Regions from separate parts of the Homo sapiens genome. Here region 2 is linked to region 1. The links are contacts of gene promoters, found by promoter capture Hi-C in blood cells and fetal thymus (Javierre and others, 2016). All regions are on one chromosome and are shown on one strand. The core of a region is centred on a gene start or on the middle of the fragment in contact, and the rest is flanking DNA. Distances in the headings are between cores, read along the strand shown. Region 1 holds the start of SLAMF6 (SLAM family member 6). Region 2 overlaps F11R (F11 receptor).

Evidence for each region. The method cuts DNA at HindIII sites, captures the fragments that hold promoters and counts their contacts. A CHiCAGO score of 5 or more calls a contact.
Region 2: a contact is called between a fragment that was not itself captured here and the fragment with the promoter of SLAMF6 in region 1, in 2 of 17 cell types (activated CD4 T cells and non-activated CD4 T cells). The highest score is 5.4, in activated CD4 T cells.

What each region holds. Positions count from the first base shown.
Region 1 is chr1:160,521,514-160,525,761 of GRCh38, reverse strand. It overlaps SLAMF6 (SLAM family member 6), which reads left to right and starts at 2,507. Exons shown (of 8, transcript NM_001184714.2): 1 at 2,507-2,618. The coding sequence starts at 2,570. RefSeq lists an enhancer at 2,673-2,722. The HindIII fragment of the contact is 3,138 bases long and covers 1-2,878 here.
Region 2 is chr1:161,013,555-161,017,802 of GRCh38, reverse strand. The region is part of intron 1 of F11R (F11 receptor); the gene reads left to right. Among named protein-coding and RNA genes, the nearest start is that of F11R, 5.5 kb to the left of the region's middle. RefSeq lists enhancers at 1,301-1,898, 3,540-3,759, 4,170-4,248. The HindIII fragment of the contact is 7,117 bases long and covers 1-4,248 here.

The sequences.
Region 1 (4,248 bases), core at 1,258-3,757:
GGCAAAATCTGGAAGCATTCCCTTTGAAAACTAGCACAAGGATGCCCTCTCTCACCACTCCTATTCAACATAATATTGAAAGTTCTGACCAGGGCAATCAGGCAAGAGAAAGAAGTAAAGGGTATTCAGATAAGAAGAGAGGAAATCAAATAGTCTCTGTTTGCAGATGACATGATTGTATATTTAGAAAACTCCATTGTCTTAGCCCAAAATCTCCTTAAGCTGATAAGCAGCTTCAGCAGTCTCAGGATACAAAATCAATGTGCAAAAATCACAAGCATTCCTATACACCAAAAATAGACAAACAGAGAGCCAAGTCGTGAGTGAACTGCCATTCACAATTGCTACAAAGAGAATATAATACCTAGGAATACAACTTACAAGGGATGTGAAGGACCTCTTCAAGGAGAACTACAAACCACTGCTCAAGGAAATAAGAAAGTACACAAACAAATGGAAAACCATTCCATGCTCATAGATAGGAAGAATCAATATCATGAAAATGGCCATATTGCCCAAAGTAATTTATAGGTTCAATGCTATTTCCATCAAACTACTATTGACTTTCTTCACAGAATTAGAAAAAACTACTTTAAATTTCATACAGAACCAAAAACGAGCCCATATAGCCAAGACAATTGTAAGCCAAAAGAACAAAGCTGGAGGCAGCACGCTAACTGACTTCAAACTATACTACAAGGCTGCAGTAACCAAAACAGCATGGTACTGGTACCAAAACAGATATATAGACCAATGGAGCAGAACAGAGGCCTCAGAAATAACATCACACATCTACAACCATCTGATCTTTGACAAACCTAACAAAAACAAGCAATGGGGAAAGGATTCCCTATTTAATAAATGGTGTTGGGAAAACTGGCTAGCAATTATGCAGAAAACTGAAACTGGTTCCCTTCCTTATACCTTACACAAAAATTAACTCAAGATGGATTAAAGACTTAAATGTTAGACCTAAAACCACAAAAACCCCAGAAGAAAACCTAGGCAATACCATTCAGGACAAAGGCATGGGCAAAGACTTCAATACTAAAACATCAAAATCAATGGCAACAAAAGCCAAAATTGACAAATGGGACCTAATTAAACTAAAGAGCTTCTGCACAGCAAAAGAAACTATCATCAGAGTGAACAGGGAACCTACAGAATGGGAGAAAATTTTTGCAGTCTATCCATTTGACAAAAGGCTAATATCCAGAATCTACAAAGAACTCAAACAAATTTACAAGAAAAAAAAAAAAACCCCAACAAAAAGTGGGCAAAGGATATGAAGACACTTCTCAAAAGAAGACATTTATGCGGCCAAGAAACATATGAAAAAAGCTCATCATCACTGGTCATTAGAGAAATGCAAATCAAAACTACAATGAGATACCATCTCATGCCAGTTAGAATGGCAATCATTAAAAAATCAGGAAACAACAGATGCTGGAGAGGATGTAGAGAAATGGGAATGTTTTCACACTGTTGGTGGGAGTGTAAACTAGTTCAACCATTGTGGAATACAGTGTGGCGATTCCTCAAGGATCTAGAACTAGAAATACCATTTGACCCAGCAATCCCATTACTGGTTATATACCCAAAGGATTATAAATCATGCTGCTATAAAGACACATGCACACTTATGTTTATTGCAGCACTGTTCACAATAGCAAAGACTTGGAACCAACCCAAATGCCCATCAATGATACACTGGATAAAGAAAATGTGGCATATATATACCATGGAATACCATGCAGCCATAAAAAAGGATGAGTTCATGTCCTTTGCAGGGACATGGATGAAGCTGGAAACCATCATTCTCAGCAAACTAACACAAGAACAGAAAGCCAAACAACGCATGTTCTCACTCATAGGTGGGAACTGAACAATGAGAACACATGGACACAGGTAGGGGAACATCATACACTGGGGTATGTCACGGGGTGGGGGGCAAGGGGAGGGATAGCATTAGGAGAAATATCTAATGTAGATGACAAGTTAATAGGTGCAGCACACCAACATGGCATATGTATACATATGTAACAAACCTGCACATTGTGCACATGTACCCTAGAACTTAAAGTATAATTTTAAAAAATCAGTTTTCTTTTGGCTTTTTCTTAGCTTTATACTTAAATATTTTTTTCTAATGTAATTAGAGTGGAATTGTTTTTTGAATTTTATTTTTGGATTACTCATAGCTAGTATATACAATTGCAATTGAATTTTATATTTTGATTTTGTATCTTTTCACCTTGCTGAACTCATTTATTTGTTCTAGTAGATTTTAGGAAATTCCTTACAGACTTTTACATATAAGTTTATGAAAGATGCAATAAAGGACTTTATCTTCTTTTCCAAAAAAAAAAAAAATTTGTGCACTTAGCTCAGAAAAAAGTAAACAAAAAATTAACACAGTTACAAATTAGGATTTTTAGTGCAGGGGAAGAAGTTGTCACCACGCCTCTAAGAGGAAGGGGAAGTCTCAGAAGTATTTTCAGTTTATGACAGAAGGGCAAAAACATTGACTGCCTCAAGGTCTCAAGCACCAGTCTTCACCGCGGAAAGCATGTTGTGGCTGTTCCAATCGCTCCTGTTTGTCTTCTGCTTTGGCCCAGGTAAATGTCAATCCAGATCGGTGTAGTCACTGAGTGACTCCCTGGTTTTGTGCAGCTTGCTCAACCTAAATCGTCTGTATACAGTTGTCTGGCTCTCTGCCAAGGGATTGGGGCGGGAAAGGGGACGCTGGCAGTGTTACCTGATATACTACTACCTCCTCTCAACTTTGGATGCGATAAGCCTGAGATGGTTGTCGGTGAACAATTTCAATTGTGTCTGCATGTAAGAAAGTTATTTGCTGGGGCAGAGGAAATAAGCTTTTGAAGACAAGACTGTTTGTGGTTTATGACCAGCATCTTGTGTTATAAAGAGTACCAAGACCAAGAAAATGGGCCCTCATACCAATGTATCTACTATCGTACTGTGAACCTCAGGGAGGTTACTTATCCTTCCTGAACCTCACTATCCTCATCTAAATTATTAAAAACCTATTATTCAGTTGAGCCAAATTTTCTGGGCCCAACCAAACACACCAAAAATAACCCTCTCACCTTTTGCTCATTGCAAAAAAAAAGGTTTCCATCTCTCCCCTCCTTTAGTGCAAATTAGGGCTAGCTAGTCCAGCAATGCATTATATATGGCAGTGAGAAAAGAATGAACTGATCCAGCTGGCTTCTTGTTTCCTGCTGTCCATTATATGGAGAAGATGAAGATTCATATCACATTTGGGGAACTACAAGTGGTCCACGGGAGACAAAGTGTAGCATTCAGGCAGAGATAGTCCAGGAGACCAATGGAAATCTAGTCCAGAGCTAGCCCAGGGTAGCAGATAAAAGTAGGAAGCATTCACTGAGCACTTATTGTATTTCAAGTATTGTGCCAGGTGCTGTACACACGTTATGAGTCTCATGAGAATTCTATGAATTTATACTATTAATATCTCCATTTTAAAATGAAGAACTGAGGTGAACTTAATTTAAATAATTTGCCCAAATTTCATTAGCCAGCATGCGACAAGCTCTTGTAATAGTTATGAGAAAAAATAACAGTTCAACAAGTGTGGCAGCAGCATAAGAGAAAGAAGAGACTGAAGCAAGAGATCCCATCAATATGGAGTTAAGTAGAGTAATTGGTAATTGGAATGAGAAAGGAATAAATATTCATTGAGCACCTACTGAATGCTTGGCACTCTTCTAGTTTGCATGAATACATCATGAACAAAGCAAGCAAAAATTCCTGCCCTCATGGAGTTAACATTTTAGCAGGAGACAAACTGTAAAAAAAGATAAACAAGTAAAATAGTGTATTGGGTAGGAAGAAATAAATCAAGAAGGAAAGGGAGAGATGAAATATGGTAAAGACGGCAGTGAAATTTCAGACAGGATAGCCAAAGAAAGTGACAAAATTGGAAGGTGGAGAGCAGCCACAGGAGGAAGGTGAGTTCAATTTTGGACCTACTGATTTTAGGATGTCAGTGTGCTATACATGAGGAAGTTACGTGGAGGATCCTGGGAACTTAGGACTAGGGGTAGAGCTGAGGCTAGAGACTTAAAAATCAATGGCATAGAGATATGTTAAGCTGAGGAGAAAACTGGAATGAGAACAGAACTTTGGGAAATATATATAAAATGCAGAAAGAGAGAGAATTCTTTCCTTCATTCAAGAGCCACTTCCTGATCTAGGAGCAGA
Region 2 (4,248 bases), core at 1,067-3,566, 490 kb before region 1:
AAGGTGTGGGTTGCCCCTCCACACCTGTGGGTGTTTCTCGTAAGGTGGAACGAGACTTGGAAAAGAAAAAGACACAGAGACAAACTATAGAGAAAGAAATAAGGAGACCCGGGGAACCAGCGTTCAGCACATGGAGGATCCCGCCAGCCTCTGAGTTCCCTTAGTATTTATTGATCATTCGTGGGTGTTTCTCTGAGAGGGGGATGTGTCAGGGTCACAAGACAATTGTGGGGAGAGGGTCAGTAGACAAACACGTGAACAAAGGTCTTTGCATCATAGACAAGGTAAAGAATCAAGTGCTGTGCTTTTAGATATGCATACACATAAACATCTCAATGCTTTACAAAGCAATATTGCTGCCCGCATGTCCCACCTCCAGCCTTAAGGCGGTTTTTCCCTATCTCAGTAGATGGAACGTACAATGTCTTGGTTTTATACCGAGACATTCCATTGCCCAGGGACGGGCAGGAGACAGATGCCTTTCTCTTGTCTCAACTGCAAGAGGCATGCCTTCCTCTTATACTAATCCTCCTCAGCACAGACCCTTTACAGGTGTTGGGCTGGGGGACAGTCAGGTCTTTCCCTTCCCACGAGGCCATATTTCAGACTATCACATGGGGAGAAACCTTGGACAATACCTGGCTTTCCTAGGCAGAGGTCCCTGCGGCCTTCCGCAGTGTTTTTGTCCCTGGGTACTTGAGATTAGGGAGTGGTGATGACTCTTAAGGAGCATGCTGCCTTCAAGCATTTGTTTAACAAAGCACATCTTGCACAACCCTTAATCCATTTAACCCTGAGTTTGACACAGCACATGTTTCAGAGAGCAAGGGGTTGGGGGTAAGGCCATAGATTAACAGCATCCCAAGGCAGAAGAATTTTTCTTAGTACAGAACAAAATGGAGTCTCCTATGTCTACTTCTTTCTACACAGACACAGTAACAATCTGATCTCTCTTGCTTTTCCCCACACTGGTGAGTCACTCCTCCTTTCCTCTCCCTCTACTCCCAGGAGTGAATTGTTCCCTCCAAACTAGAAACTGGTGACTGGCACTTCCTAGTTCTACCTGGAACTAGGAAACGAGTGGCAGTGGAATTTCAGTGTCCTTTAGTCTTTGCCTTCTGGCTCCAGATCACTTTTTTTTTTTTTGAGACGGAGTCTCATTCTGTTACCCAGGCTGGAATGCAGTAGCATGATCTTGGCTCACTGCAACCTCCACCTCCCGGCTTCAAGCGATTCTCCTGCCTTAGCCTCCCCAGCAGCTGGGACTACAGGCACGCGCCACCACGCCCGGCTAATTTTTTGTATTATTTATTTATTTATTTGTTTTTGAGACAGAGTCTCTCTCTGTCGCCAGGCTGGAGTACAGTGGCACGATCTCGGCTCACTGCAAACTCCACCTCCCGGGTTCATGCCATTCTCCTGCCTCAGCCTCCTGAGTAGCTGGGACTACAGGCGCCCGCCACCATGCCTGGCTAATTTTTTCTATTTTTAGTTGAGACGAGGTTTCACTGTGTTAGCCAGGATGGTCTTGATCTCCTGACCTCATGATCTGCCCGCCACGGCCTCCAAAAGTGCTGGGATTACAGGCGTGAGCCACCGCGCCCGGCCCCTAATTTTTTGTATTTTTAGTAGAGACGGGTTTTCACCATGTTGGCCAGGCTGGTCTCGAACTCCTGACTTCAAGTAATCCTCTTGCCTAGGCTTTCCAAAGTGCTGGGATTACAGGCGTGAACCCCTGCACCTGGCCACTCCAGACCACTTTTACCTCACCATGTTGCTCTTCAGTTCCTTTGTGATCATGTCTTGTGGAGTCTCCAGCCCAGTTCCGATTCAAGATAGAGCTACTGTGATTTTTTTTAAAAAAATTTAATTAGAATAGGTTAATTGACATGGTTTTATAATTAAAATGATATCAAAGGGGTGGGGTATCTCATTCCCATGTTGCTCCTGTTCACCCCAAACCCCAATAGTTTCTAATGTCTCTTCAGTGTTTCATTTTACAGATACAAGTATATATAAATAATACTTGTTTTTTCTCCCCTTTCTGACACAAAAAGAGGCATACTACATATATTCTACATCTTGCTTATATATATATATCATGGAGTTTTGTTGTTGTTGTTGTTGTTTTTGAAACAGGGTCTCACTCTGTTGCCCAGGCTGGAGTACAATGGCATGATCATAGCTCACTGCAGCCTTTTTTTTTTTTTTTGAGACAAAGTCTTGCTGTGTTGCCCAGGGAGGAGTCCAGTGGCGTGATCTTGTCTCACTGCAGACTCTGCCTCCCAGGTTCAAGTGATTCTCCTGCCTCAGCCTCCCGAGTAGCTGGGACACAAGCGTGCACCACCATTCTTGGCTAATTTTTGTGTGTGTGTATATATATATATATATATATTTTTTTTTTTGAGATGGAGTCTGGCTCTGTCACCCAGGCTGGAGTGCACTGGAGCAATCTCGGCTCACTGCAAGCTCCGCCTCGCGGGTTCACGCCATTCTCCTGCCTCAGCCTCCCGAGTAGCTGGGACTACAGGGGCCCGCCACCACTCCGGCTGATTTTTTGTATTTTTTTTAGTAGAGACGGGGTTTCACCGTGTTAGCCAGGATGGTCTCGATCTGCTGACCTCGTGATCTGCCTGCCTCGGCCTCCCAAAATGCTGGGATTACAGGCATGAGCCACTGTGCCCAGCCTTTTGTACATATTTTTTTAATTTAATTTTTTTTTTTTGAGATGGAGTCTTGCTCTGTTACCCAGGCTGGAGTGCAGTGGCGTGATCTCGGCTCACTGCAAGCTCTGCCTCCCGGGTTCACGCCATTCTCCTGCCTCAGCCTCCCAAGTAGCTGGGACTACAGGCACCCGCCACCATTCCCTGCTAATTTTTTTTTTTTTTTGTATTTTTAGTAGAGATGGGATTTCACCATGTTAGCCAGGATGGTCTTGATCTCCTGGCCTTGTGATCTGCCCCCATTGGCCTCCCAAAGTGCTGGGATTACAGGTGTGAGCTGCCCGGCTAATTTTTGTATTTTTAGTAGAGATAGGGTTTCACCATGTTGGCCAAGCTGGTCTTGAATTCCTGACTTCAAGTGATCCGCCTGCCTTGGCCTCCCAAAGTGCTGGGATTACAGGCATGAGCCACCGTGCCTGGCCTCACTGCAGCCTTGACCTCCTGGGTTCAAGCAATCCTCCAGTCTTAGCCTCCTGAATAGCTGAGGCTATAGGCAAGTGTGAGTGGTGAGCCATACCTGGCTAATTTTTTATTTTTTTAGTACAGACAGGGTCTCATCTGTTGTACAGGCTGGTCTTGAATTCTTGGCTTTAAGGGATCCTTTTGCCTTGGCCTTTCAAAATGCTGAATGACAGGTATGAGTCACTACACCTGGCCCATATTGGTTTCTAGGGATTGTGGCCTTGGCTGTTAGGATACATCCCACCCCCCTCCAAGTCAGCTGAGTTCAATTTGCACTTGTTCTGTGGACACATAAATGGGCAACACACGTTTCCACCACACCCAAAAATAGATTTAAATGCCATGCACATTTTATGTGATAATAATGAGACTTGTTTATCACATCTGTTAGGTTTGACTAGAGACCCTGGAGATCTCTAAACTCAAACCAGTTTCTGTTTCAGAGATTCAGGAAAGACCTGGATGACCTTGCGTCCAACATAATTGAGGATGAGGTTTCACTATTGTGTGACGGTTGTGGAAAGCAGTATGAGTGAACACATACTGTGAGAGTGGATACACACTAGGGTTTTCCTGGCATTGAGAACCCAGAGTTCATCTGCCTGGACTCCCTGATAAGCAGGGTTTCTGTCTAAAGTCCGGCTGCGTCATTTGTTTCACAATGTAGGGGCGGAACAGGAGGAAGCAGCTGGCTGGCAGGAAGTGGGTGCTGGGCCCCTGAAGTAAGTCCTGCGCTGGAAGGCTCGACCTTCCCTTGCACTGGGAAGATGGGGTGGCGGGGGAGCTGAGCAGGTAGAACCGGAAATTCTGCAGAGAGGGCGGGAGGGAGCCAGGGAGTGAAAGCGAGCCTGTCTTACCCTGCCATTACCACTTTCTGCCATCCTCAGAGGACCCGAGCCAGCTGATCGACATCACTGAAAGTGCAGCCAAGGATGGCTATTTAGACATAGCCCAGCCTGTTGTTGGCCTCACAGAGCCTTCCTCTTGCTCACACATTTCTAAACTGTTCTACCCCAAACCCCGGAAAGGCCCTTCCCTGTGGAACTTCCCTGGCCCATGGAGC